4 separate regions of the Homo sapiens genome follow, and regions 2, 3 and 4 are each linked to region 1. Evidence: promoter capture Hi-C in 16 types of primary human blood cells and fetal thymus (Javierre and others, 2016). All regions are on one chromosome and are shown on one strand. Each heading gives the region's core, a stretch centred on a gene start or on the middle of the fragment in contact. The rest is flanking DNA. Distances are from core to core; before and after follow the strand shown. Region 1 holds the start of CHTF8 (chromosome transmission fidelity factor 8). Region 2 has its middle 32 kb from the start of ZFP90. Region 3 holds the start of WWP2 (WW domain containing E3 ubiquitin protein ligase 2). Region 4 overlaps ZFP90 (ZFP90 zinc finger protein).

Region 1 (2,767 bases), core at 82-2,581:
ATCACATTTTAGGATTCCCACGTTGGAGGGAATCAATTACTGGTATTTGTAGCAATGGGTGGAAAAGATGGCTTCAGTCGATCTGAGTTACTGCAGTTTTCTCCATCTTCTGCTACTCTGCAGCCCCATCTTAGCCTGTCCTCCTCTTAATGGTACGGCCCCCTGTACTCCCCCAAACCCTTTCCTTTCTAGCCCGGCGTAGAGTCTCCCTCTGTGCTCTTCCTCCCACCCACCCCCATCTTCTCCACCCACTCCCTCTCGGCCCCCTCCCACCCTTTCTGCTAGAGCTACAAACACTTCCTATTTCTAGTCCCACCCACTTTCTGGGACTTCTCAATCCGCTTCCCCCCTCTTCTCCACCCCCCTCCAAATTACAAGCTGTTTTAACCCCTTTTCCTGCCTCCCAGGGAAACTATTCTTTAAACCGCCTTCCTCCACACCACCCACTGGAGTGGTCTTCCAAACCGTTCACCCTCTTCCCAAAGATTACTCTTTAAACGTCCTTTCTCTACCACCCTCGTTCTCCAAATTGTTCCCGGTTCTCAAGTACTCCACTCCTCCAGGACCCCACCCCACTCGTCTCTCGGCTTCCCTCCCACAAAAGAACCTGGAATGACTCTCCAACCACCCTTCCAATTACCTCTCCCAGAAGCCTCCCCCCTCCACGATTACAAATGTTACCTGGAACAAAACCTCACGGTCCTAACCCCCACCCCGAACTCCCCTTTCTGCTCTTCCCGCTACTTCCTAGGTTCCAGTTCTACTCCGCTCCCGCAAGCATAGCGGGCTGGGCTCCCTCCCAACCCCGGGAAGAGCCCCTTCCCGCACGTACCTCGAGATTCCGGCCCTCGCCGCCCCCTTCTCCGTCCTCCGCCCGCGCTCGGCCACCCTTTCCGCCCTTCTCCCGCTCCGCCCCGCTCGCTCCCTTCCTTCCCTCCGCCTTCCGTCTCCACACCGCTCCCTTCCCCCACACTCCTGGCCCTCCCACCCCGGAGGCCCCTCCGGGCTTGCCCCCACCTCCGCGCCGCCCTCCCGCCGCCCTCCCCCTTCCCGGCCACCCCTCCCCCGCCCGCGCTCCCCGCCCCTCGGCTCGCCATTCTTCTCTCCGAGCCGCGCGCCCCGCCCGGCCCCGGCTCCCTAGCTTCCCGCTCCCTCGCGCCCTCGCCCCCAATCCCGGCTCGGCCCTCGCTCCCCGCAGCCTCCCGTGCCCCCCGCCCGCGGCCTGACCTGCAATGGCGGCCGCCGAGCGCGGCGCCGCGCGGCCAACGGGCGACAACCGAACCTCCCGCCGCCGTCGCCGCCGCCGCGAGCACTGCCTGCGCACTTCCGACTATGCGCCAGGAGCACTTCCGGGGCAGAGCCTGAGAGCGCGCGCGCACGTGGGGCCGGGGCGGAGAGAGGCGAGCACCGGGAAGGGGAGCGTGGGGCCGCTGGTGAGTTGGGGAAGGGGCGTGGGAAGCGGCTGCGAGAGCTGGGGGGGTCTTACAAGGTGGCCGGCCCAGGGTCGGCGTCCGGCTGAGCTCCTTGTCCCGAGGGTCTCCTTGTCCCGAGGCGGGGTGGGGGCTACTCTGTAGACTCGGGGAGAGGGAAGGGGAGGCGAAGACCGCGCGCGCCTCAGACGCCCCGGCCCGACCGAACGCGCTTGCTCTGTCTGCGGGTTCCTAACCTTGAAGCTAGGCCAGTGAGGGGCGAACAAGACCTGGTCTCTACTCTCGGCCAGTATATATGTTGGCGGGCGTCGGGGGGACGGGGTAGGGTAAGTGACAGACGTCAGACCAGGCAGCCAGATTAAGTCAAACCCTGTCGTTTCTTCCTCAAGAGGAGCTCGGTTCTGCCTGCCCCATCAGCCTCACTGTCACTACCTCAGTTTAGGTCTGTTGTTTGCAAACTTAGCAATAGAGTTGAGGAGAGATGCTTGCTAAAATGCGGATTCCTAGGCGCCCCGAGATAGGAACTCTGGAGCTATGGAGTAGGACCCTTTTTGATTTTTTGCTGAAGCCTCCTTATTATTCAAGCCATTCTGAGCTTTTGAAGATTGAGTAATTCTTGTGGGGGGCATTGTTAGCAGCCATTTGGAAATGAACTTCAGGGAGATGTTGTTGGAGCCTTCCAGCCAGAACAGTGATATTAAGGAACTGAATACTATATGTGACATACTGCAGTTAACATATAGCAATAATGACTCTCTTTTCGCCCCCTAGGAATGGGTGAATTTAAGGTCCATCGAGTACGTTTCTTTAATTATGTTCCATCAGGAATCCGCTGTGTGGCTTACAATAACCAGTCAAACAGATTGGCTGTTTCACGAACAGATGGCACTGTGGAAATTTATAACTTGTCAGCAAACTACTTTCAGGAGAAAGTAAGTCATTTGGGAGTCTGATATGGTGTTTTGATGTTAATTTCTTCTGAAGTTCAAGAAGCTTGTATGTCTTTTATAATCAAACTGATTGAGTGACTTCCTAGCCCCTCTGAAGTTGCTTAGAACTACCAAACTTCTGAGATCTCCTAACTGATAAGAGAAGCTCAGTTTCAATCTGTGTAATGTTGATTAGAAGGGTCCTACCTAGAAATGTGACATCTCACTGCCTGTCATTGGAAACTGAGGTTTGCTGGATCTTTTGGACACAGGAAGGGAAATTGTTGGTATATCAGTCTCAACACCATTGCAGCTTTGGTAAGCAAAATTTCCTGCAGGGAGTATCAGTACTGTTTCATTGTCAATTCAGAAAAAATGATAACACGTTTTAATATCAGAAACTTTTTG
Region 2 (2,767 bases), core at 194-2,693, 630 kb before region 1:
TGGCCACAGTGGTTGGCTAAGGGATGGGCACCAGACCCAATTGGGACCAATAAGACCCACAGGACTTTTGATGGGCACCTGGGAAGATGCTTTCTTATTTATTTATTTAGAAACAGAGTCTTACTCTGTTGCCCAGGCTGGAGTGCACTGGCATGATCTCGGCTCACTGCAACCTCTGCCTCCCAGGTCCAAGCAATTCTCCTGCCTCAGCCTCCCAAGCAGCTGGGATTATAGGTGCCTGCCACCAAGTCCAGCTAATTTGTGTATGTTTAGTAGAGATGGGGTTTTGCCATGTTGGTCAGGCTGGTCTCAAACTCCTGACCTTAAGTGATACACCGGCCTCAGCCTCTCAAAATGCTGGGATTATAGGTGTAAGCCACCACACCCAGCAAGGGAAGATGCTTTCTTGATAATTTGTAGAAGCCACCTGGAGAAGGAACTGCTGGCTCTTCCAGGCAGTCAGAGCGTGAACCAGGGTTTGGCACATCTTTGAACCCTTTGCTGTGTTGGGCATGGCTGGCCTGGAGATGAAGCCCATAGCCCAAGGCAGGCAGGTGGAAAGAATTCCAGAGCAGCAGCGACAGTGCCCCGCCTGAACCTCAGCTGGGGCTTCAAGACTGTTTGGTTCCATGGGACAGCCCATTCTCTTTAGTTTGTGCTAGTTTGGGTCTACTGTTCTGAAAGCTACAACTGAGAAGATGCTAGCTGATCTCACTAAAGAGGAATTTCCTTTCAGGTCACAGAGTCAGGACTGAGGCAGCCTGGGCTTGGGAGAAGGAGGACCAGGCAGTTGGTTGGTGACACTCATTCAGGAACCAATAGCTTTGTGCCCCAGGGACTGTGGGAAGGAGGACCTCAATGCAGACAGGGGAGCCGCAGGTCTGGTGCAGGGAGGGATGATCATGCCCAGGGCCCTCACTCCCAGCCTCGGCTGGAGGCTCCCTTCATAGAATTCCACCTGCCTGGTAAATGCAGAATGCAGTCCACTTAAAGAAATCAGAGCAGCTGCCACGTCAAAGCCGAAAAGATGTGTGGAGGTGGGTGGAGAGGAGGCGGGTAATTATGCAGGAAAAATAGTTTTCTTGATATTCTTCTGGAAATATGCGTGGAACAGAGGGAGCAGCAGGAGAGATGCCAGGCAAGGAGAAAATGTATGAATAGCAGAATGCATGGTGCCTCTCCAAAGGCAGACAGAGGCAGCGCTGCTTTGACCACAGCATCCTTTTGTGGGGAGCATCTGGGACTCCATGAGACACTTCCGCAGGGACTCTTCAATGTAGGACTTTATTCATGGGTCCATTACAGAATTTGCTGGGAATGATTGAGCCTTTCTTCCCCCTGTAATCCCAGCACTTTGGGAGGCTGAGGTGGGAGGATTGCTTGAGGCCAGGAGTTCAAGACCAGCCTAGGCAACAAAGTAAGATCTCGTCTCTACGAAAAAAAAAATTTTTTTTTAATTAGTCCGAAAAAAAAATGGGAGAGGCGTGAGGGATAAAAGACTACACATTGGGTACAGTGTAGACTGCTTGGGTGATGGGTGCATCAAAATCTCAGAAATCACCGCTAAAGAACATATCCTTGTAACCAAACACTACCTGTTCCCCCAAAACCTATTGAAATTTTAAAAAATAATAACCAAGTGCGGTGGCATGCGTCTGTGGTCCCAGCTACTCGGGAGGCTGAGGTGGGAGGACTGCTTGAGCCCAGGAGTTCGAGGCTACCGTGAGCAATGATTGTACCACTGCACTCCAGCCTGTACCACAGAGCAGGACTCTTGAGAGAGAGAGAGAGAGCACGCTGGCATGGGATCTCCCCATGCCACTTCTATGCCCCGTTAGGAATCTGCCCACAGAACCCATGTACTCTGCATGCCCAAGTGGCAGAGAGGCACCCCAAACTCTGAGAAGCAGCTCTGAGGTTGTGAACATTGAATGTAGATAATTATCCAGCTGTGAAGAAGCTGAACATTTCTTCGGGCTGTTTCTGCGTAATTATAAATATTTGAGAATATTAAACTCCCAGGTTACACATTGAGGGTATTGTCTGAGTAGCAGTTGGCTGCAGAGCTGGAAATGCAAACATATTTTCATTCCTCCCTCCTGGTGTACTCAGGATATTTCATGGGATTCAAAAGAAAAAGTTACAGTCGAGAAAAAAAAGCACCGACAACCTGGAGGCAAAGTCAGTTGCTAATATTTCTAAATAGCTTTAAATCAAAGAAGAGGAATGTGACCACTTTAGTTAACTGTGCTGGGTTTGTGATGCGTTTTTCTCTATGGTTTAGGAAAGCAATTACCATGAAACAACCTACCTGTGCCTTCGTGTGATAAAATGTTCCCTCTAATAGGGCCAATATGCCCAGCAGTAGGTCTTTACAAGCACTCAATGTTTCTAGAAGCATTTTCACATGTGGGGCTCCTTGGTGTGCAGTGAGAGCCCATGACTCACTCCTTAAGGACCCGTCATAGTGCAGGGTTGTTGGTTTTGTTTTTTGTTTTTTGTTTTTGAGATGGAGTTTCGCTCTTGTCGACCAGGCTAGAGTGCAATGGCACGATCTTGGCTCACTGCAACCTCCACCTCCCAGGTTCCAGGTTCAAGTGATTCTCCAGCCTCAGCCTCCCGTGTAGCTGGGATTACAGGCGCCCAGAATGCCCGGCTAATTTTTGCATTTTTAGTAGAGATGGGGTTTTGCCGTGTTAGCCAGGCTGGTCTCCAACTCCTGACCTCAGGTGATCCGCCCACCTCGGCCTCCCAAAGTGCTGGGATT
Region 3 (2,767 bases), core at 145-2,644, 630 kb after region 1:
CCCATCTCTATTAAAAATACAAAAATTAGCCAGGCATGGTGGTGGGTGCCTGTAGTCCCAGCTACTCAGGAGGCTGAGGAAGGAGAATTGCTTGAACCTGGGAGGCAGAGGTTGCAGTGAGCCAAGATTGAGCCACTGCACTCCTGCCTGGGCTACAAGAGTGAAACTCTGTCTCAAGCAAGCAAATAAATAAATAAATAAATAAATAAATAAAGTTATTGGGCAGGCACAGTGGCATTCGCCTGTAGTCTCAGCTACTTGGGAGGCTGAAGCAAGAGGACTGCTTGAAGCTGGGAGTTCGAGCCCAGCCAAAGCAACCTATCCAGACCCATCTCTTAAAAAAAATATTTCTCTGCCAGGTGCGGTGGTTCATGCCTGTAATCCCAGCACTTTGGGAGGCCAAGGTGGGCGGATCATTTGAAGTCAGGTGTTCGAGACCAGACTGGTCAACATGGAGGAACCCTGTCTCTACTAAAAATGCAAAAATTAGCCAGGCGTGGTGGTGCACGCCTGTAATCCCAGCTACTCGGGAGGCTGAGGCAGGAGAATTGCATGAACCGGCGAGACGGAGGTTGCAGTCAGCTGAGACTGCACCACTGCACTCCAGCCTGGGCGACAGAGCGAGGCTCCATCTCAAAAAAAAAAAAAAAAATATCATCTATCTATCCACCTACCTACCTACCTACCTACCTGGATTATAATTCATTAAGTTCTCTGTGCCCTGTAGTTGTAGATTAAGGGAATGCGATTGGATTAGTGTGGAGGGGCTTTTTATGGAGCCAAGCAGGAGTTTTTAAGCTTTTGTACTTTTGCTTCATGTCACAAGGACAGATGCCCCACAAAGGCTGAGATGTTTGTGGTCCTGGATCTTAGAACAGTGCCTGGCACATAATAGGCATAAGGTTGCCAGGAAATAGAAATACAGATACTCAATTCAATTTGATCTTCAGATAATCAAAAAATACTTTTTTTAGTATAAATATGTCCCATTCTGTATTTGGGACATACATATTACACTGTTGTTTATCTGAAATTCAAATTTAAGTGGGTGTCCTGTACTTTATCTGGCAACCCTACTAAAGGAGCTCAATTAAGTATTTGCTGACTTAACAGTCTGAAGGTCTCGTTTCACCTGTAAAATGGGGCTAGTACCTGTCCCTGCCTCTATAAGGTTGATGGGCAGAGTAGGTGGCATTCAGTGAGCCCTCAATTTATTTGATTGCCTGGGACCATCCGGTGAGCAGAAACCCTTCCACTTTCAACTACAGAGACGATAAAAAGGCCTCCTCGAGGCCAGAGGTGCCCAGGCCAGGCCTAGGTGGCCCGCACCTGCGAGCCTGGCCAGCCTCTTCCGGGTCAGGTGACCGCGCGCGGTCACGTGACCCGGCCCGAGTGCGGGCGGTGGAAGGCGGAAGTAGGAGAGGAGTTCGGCGCCGCTTCTGTGGCCACGGCAGGTAGCGAGCGCTGGCGCGGGGGGCGCGGTGGGCTGGCTGCCTGCACGGGGCGGGCCGGGGGCGGCGGGCGGCGCGGGGTGGGCCGGGGGCGGCGCGGCCCGGGCGTCGGGGGGCGGCGGCTTCCTGTGGGAGGGGCCTGGCGCGGCGGTTCCGGCCTCCGAGGAGGGGTGTCCCGGCTCCCGCCCGAGTGGGGTGGGCGCGCCGCGGCCCGCGCGGGGGTTGCTCCGAAATGGGTGCCCCGGCCGCCAAGGGTGCAGCTGGAGCGAGTCCTCCCGGAAGGGGAGAGGAGCTTAGGTTCCCAGGCATGGAGAGGAGCGATCTTTGTGGAGGGATCGGGACCAGGGGAAGGGGCGACTTGGAACTGAGCTGGAAGGGGGTGCCTGAAAATGGGTTTATGGCGTGGAGCCAGAGGGAAAAAGATGCTGCCTGGACCCCCTCTGAGAGTCTCTCCCTTCCTTCCTGTTTGGAAATGATTGTTACCCGAGACTTTGATGACGGTCCCATTCAGTTTTTAAACTTCAGGAGGGATCACAGAATCTTGATCGTCTTGCTTCCCTCGCGCCCACTTAGTCCTGCGTGGGTAGGGTTTCCACTTCTTGGGAGCCTAGCCCTTCAGCTCATTTTTCTTTGAGATTTTCCCTGAACGGGCCATCATCGAGGCTTTAAAAAACAAAAAAAGAAAATAAATTAAAAAAATAAGTGTGGGCACTTTGCCTGTAAAATGGCTTTTAGCTTACACTGTTGACCTAGCCCAGCGTTACCTCAGCAACATAGTGACTGCTGAAATCTTGGACAGAGAAGTGTCTACCTAGACTGCTTTATGACTTTTCTCTTTCTTCCGTTTAAATTATTCAGTTTCCCTTAGCTTATCTTGTGACTGCTTATCTTGACGAACTGTAACTAGGTAGGGTGCCTGAGAGGTCTGTGTTATGTTCCTTAGAACTGTGACCTGGATCATGATTTTGAGATTGAATACTTGTGTTAAAGCCTGTTCATCTTCCTGTTTCTCATGTTTACTAAAATTTGCAGAAGCAAAAGGAGTTTCATGAGTGCAGTGTAACTGGAACGAATGTTCAAACTGGACATTCACAGCAGCCAGCATCGTTTTGGGTTACAAGTAGGAAAAAGTACTTTCCTAATGTATTATGAGTTCAAGTTTTTGGAGTTATTTGACAAACATTTAAAAATTAGTTTTTGCAGCAGCGCCTATGAGTGAGGTTGGGAAGATGTATTCTCATTTCACAGGGAACAAACAGACTTACGAGAGACGACTTGATTTTTTAAAACAATTTATTGCTCTTTCTTGTTTGCTG
Region 4 (2,767 bases), core at 139-2,638, 580 kb before region 1:
TTTTTTTTTTTTTTATTGAGACGGAGTTTCGCTCTTATTGCCCAGGCTGGAGTGCAATGGCGCAATCTCGGCTCACCGCTACCTCCGCTTCCCAGGTTCAAGCAATTCTCCTGCCTCAGCCTCCTGAGTAGCTGGGATTACAGGCATGCACCTCCACACCCGGCTAATTTTGTATTTTTAGTAGAGATGGGGTTTCTCCATGTTGGTCAGGCTGGTCTCGAACTCCCGACCTCAGGTGATTCGCCCGCCTCGGCCTCCCAAAGTGCTGGGATTACAGGCATGAGCCACTGTGCCCAGCCTTATCCTCCTATCTTTAAGTTCATCTTTTAAAAATTTCTTCTTACTCGATTTATCAGAGGTTTTTCTATTTGGCTGGTGCTTAAGAGGAACCAGCCTTAGATTTGGCTGTTAATGCCATCGTTTTTCTGTTTGCCTCTGTTTTTTATAATCCAAGAATTTAATTCACTAACCCATGTGTTTTTTTTTAATCCTCGAAACAACTCCTCATTTTCCTGCATTGAGAATTACCCAGATTCTGTATCCATTCACTCAGCAGACGTGTTTGGAATGCTTGCTCTATGCCAGGCAGTGGTTCTTAACCAGGGTCATGCTTCAGAACCAGTCAGGAAGTGGTGCCTGCTTCCTCTGGGGTGGTGACAAGGCTTCAGTGAGGAAATGTGGTGAGAGTGCACGTAAATGACTGAGTTTAGTGTTTGCCTAGCAGCGAGTGTTCAAGAAATCTGAGCTGTTGCTCTTTGATAATGAACCACCTGAGGAGCTTTTAAAAGATGCTGGGCAAGACCCTCCATGCATGGACAATTTAGAAAAGCTGCCCAGGTGATTCTGGACACTCTCCACTTGCAGTGTCAGAGATACTGAAATGAAAAGGAGTTTAAGAAATTTTTGGCTGGGCGCGGTGGCTCATGCCTGTAATCCCAGCACTATGGGAGGCTGAGGCAGGTGGATCACGAGGTCAGGAGATCAAGACCATCCTGGCTAACATGGTGAAACCCCGTCTCTACTAAAAATACAAAAAAAATTAGCTGGGCGTGGTGGCGGGTGCCTGTACTCCTAGCTACTCGGGAGGCTGAGGCAGGAGAATGGCGTGAACCTGGGAAGCGGAGCTTGCAGTGAGCCGAGATCGTGCCACTGCACTCCAGCCTGGGCGACTGAGCAAGACTCCATCTCAAAAAAAAAAAAAAAAAAAAGTCTTGAGGGAGAAAAATGTAACTAGATGGCTACGGTTCTGAAATGGAGATGGGGACCAAATGCTGAAGGGGGATGGGGAGCACGGAGGATGTGGGGAAGCTTCAGGAGGGAATGGAACAGTGAACTGGTTCTACAAGGATGACTAGGAATTTTTCCTGTGGAACTGAGGGAAGAAAGTACATTATGGTCAGAATAGGATGTATAAAGGCAAAGAAACACAAAAGAAAATGTTGTTACTGGGCCAAAGAGTCCATGTGGCAGAAGCTTTGGGTATATGACAGGAGGCAGCATTTGAGAGAAAGATGGCCTGAGGTGGAGACCTAGAACAATGTAGAACGGTGGTGTGCCAAAGAAATACACATTCCATGTGTAATTTTAAGTTTTCTAGTGGCTACAATATAAAAAGAAACAGGTGAAATTAATTTTAGTAATAAATATTATTTAAAACAATATATCCAGAATATTATCATCTCTACATGTGATAAATGTTTTAAAATTACTAATGAGGCATTTTACATTCTTTCCTTGATAGTAAATCTTTGAAATTCGGTGTGTATTTTATTTTATTTTATTTATTTGAAACAGAGTCTCACTCTGTCGCCCAGGCTGGAGTGTAGTGGCGCAATCTTGGCTCACTGTAACCTCCGCCTCCTGGGTTCAAGCCATTCTCCTGCCTCAGCCTCCTGGGATTACAGGCATGTGCCACCACACCTAGGTAATTTTTGTATTTTTGTAGAGACTAGGTTTCTCCATGTTGGCCAGGCTGGTCTCAAACTCCTGACCTCAGGTGATCCACTCACCTCAGCCTCCCAAAGTGCTGGGATTATAGGTGTGAGCCACTGCGCCTGGCCCAGTGTGTATTTTGCTTAATCACACATGCCCATTTGGACTAGCTACATTGCAAGTGTGACTTTTAAGTTTGTCTGCTCTTTTTCTTTTCCTCCTAGCATTTAAAACCAGTTTGTAATTGGGTGAACATCTAAATCCTTAATTTAAAAACATAATGAATAGCCACATGTGGCCAGTGGCTGCCATATTAGACTGTGTGGCTGTAGATTGCCATTCCCTGGATTAATGCTGTCATTAGCAAGGGAGGATTTCAGCTGGATTTGAAGGATGAAGGCAAGGGACTGAATTCAGGAGACATTTCTGAGGCTTTTGGTGACTGCAAGGCATAAAGGAAAAATGAAGAGTCAAGGAGGAGGTCCAGGTTTCCAGTCTTCAATACTGCAGATGGTGATGCAGTAGGAATCTGTGTGTGTGCAAAGGTTGACAGTGATGTTCTTCTCTCTGTACACCATTGTTAGTTACACGGTCAACTATCGGCTTGTTAAACTATGATCAATCTGGTATCAGAGGCCACTTAGTGCTTAAGTGGAGATACCACACTGTATTGCCGTAAATGTGATGTTTTCTGATTGGGCAAACTGTATTTGTACATGTCCTTTCTGGAAGTGCCCTTTCACCCCATCTGCTCATAAAACTCTTTATTTCTGTAGTTCAGGGAACTCATGTTATTGATGAGGTAATTGGATCTCCAGGAGGTGTGAGATCTACT

The links. Contacts are between HindIII fragments. The CHiCAGO score rates a contact against its expected background, and 5 or more counts as called.
Region 2: a contact is called between a fragment that was not itself captured here and the fragment with the promoter of CHTF8 in region 1, in 4 of 17 cell types (fetal thymus, naive CD4 T cells, naive B cells and 1 more). The highest score is 6.3, in fetal thymus.
Region 3: the fragment with the promoter of WWP2 here is called in contact with the fragment with the promoter of CHTF8 in region 1 in 17 of 17 cell types (total B cells, activated CD4 T cells, non-activated CD4 T cells and 14 more); the score reaches 32.7 in total B cells.
Region 4: a contact is called between a fragment that was not itself captured here and the fragment with the promoter of CHTF8 in region 1, in 4 of 17 cell types (total B cells, naive CD4 T cells, total CD8 T cells and 1 more). The highest score is 7.8, in total B cells.

What each region holds. Positions count from the first base shown.
Region 1 is chr16:69,131,257-69,134,023 of GRCh38, forward strand. It overlaps CHTF8 (chromosome transmission fidelity factor 8), which reads right to left and starts at 1,332. Exons shown (of 4, transcript NM_001039690.5): 1 at 1,228-1,332. It overlaps DERPC (DERPC proline and glycine rich nuclear protein), which reads right to left and starts at 1,332. Exons shown (of 3, transcript NM_001002847.4): 1 at 1,228-1,332. It overlaps UTP4 (UTP4 small subunit processome component), which reads left to right and starts at 1,393. Exons shown (of 17, transcript NM_032830.3): 1 at 1,393-1,433; 2 at 2,202-2,362. The coding sequence starts at 2,204. RefSeq lists silencers at 912-1,061, 1,082-1,441. The HindIII fragment of the contact is 3,017 bases long and covers 1-2,421 here.
Region 2 is chr16:68,505,759-68,508,525 of GRCh38, forward strand. No RefSeq gene overlaps it. Among named protein-coding and RNA genes, the nearest start is that of ZFP90, 32 kb to the right of the region's middle. RefSeq lists an enhancer at 2,267-2,767. The HindIII fragment of the contact is 8,227 bases long and covers 1-2,767 here.
Region 3 is chr16:69,760,938-69,763,704 of GRCh38, forward strand. It overlaps WWP2 (WW domain containing E3 ubiquitin protein ligase 2), which reads left to right and starts at 1,395. Exons shown (of 24, transcript NM_001270454.2): 1 at 1,395-1,454. RefSeq lists an enhancer at 1,200-1,778 and silencers at 1,482-1,621, 1,642-1,801, 1,822-1,871. The HindIII fragment of the contact is 2,162 bases long and covers 797-2,767 here.
Region 4 is chr16:68,548,491-68,551,257 of GRCh38, forward strand. The region is part of intron 2 of ZFP90 (ZFP90 zinc finger protein); the gene reads left to right. Among named protein-coding and RNA genes, the nearest start is that of ZFP90, 11 kb to the left of the region's middle. The HindIII fragment of the contact is 165 bases long and covers 1,307-1,471 here.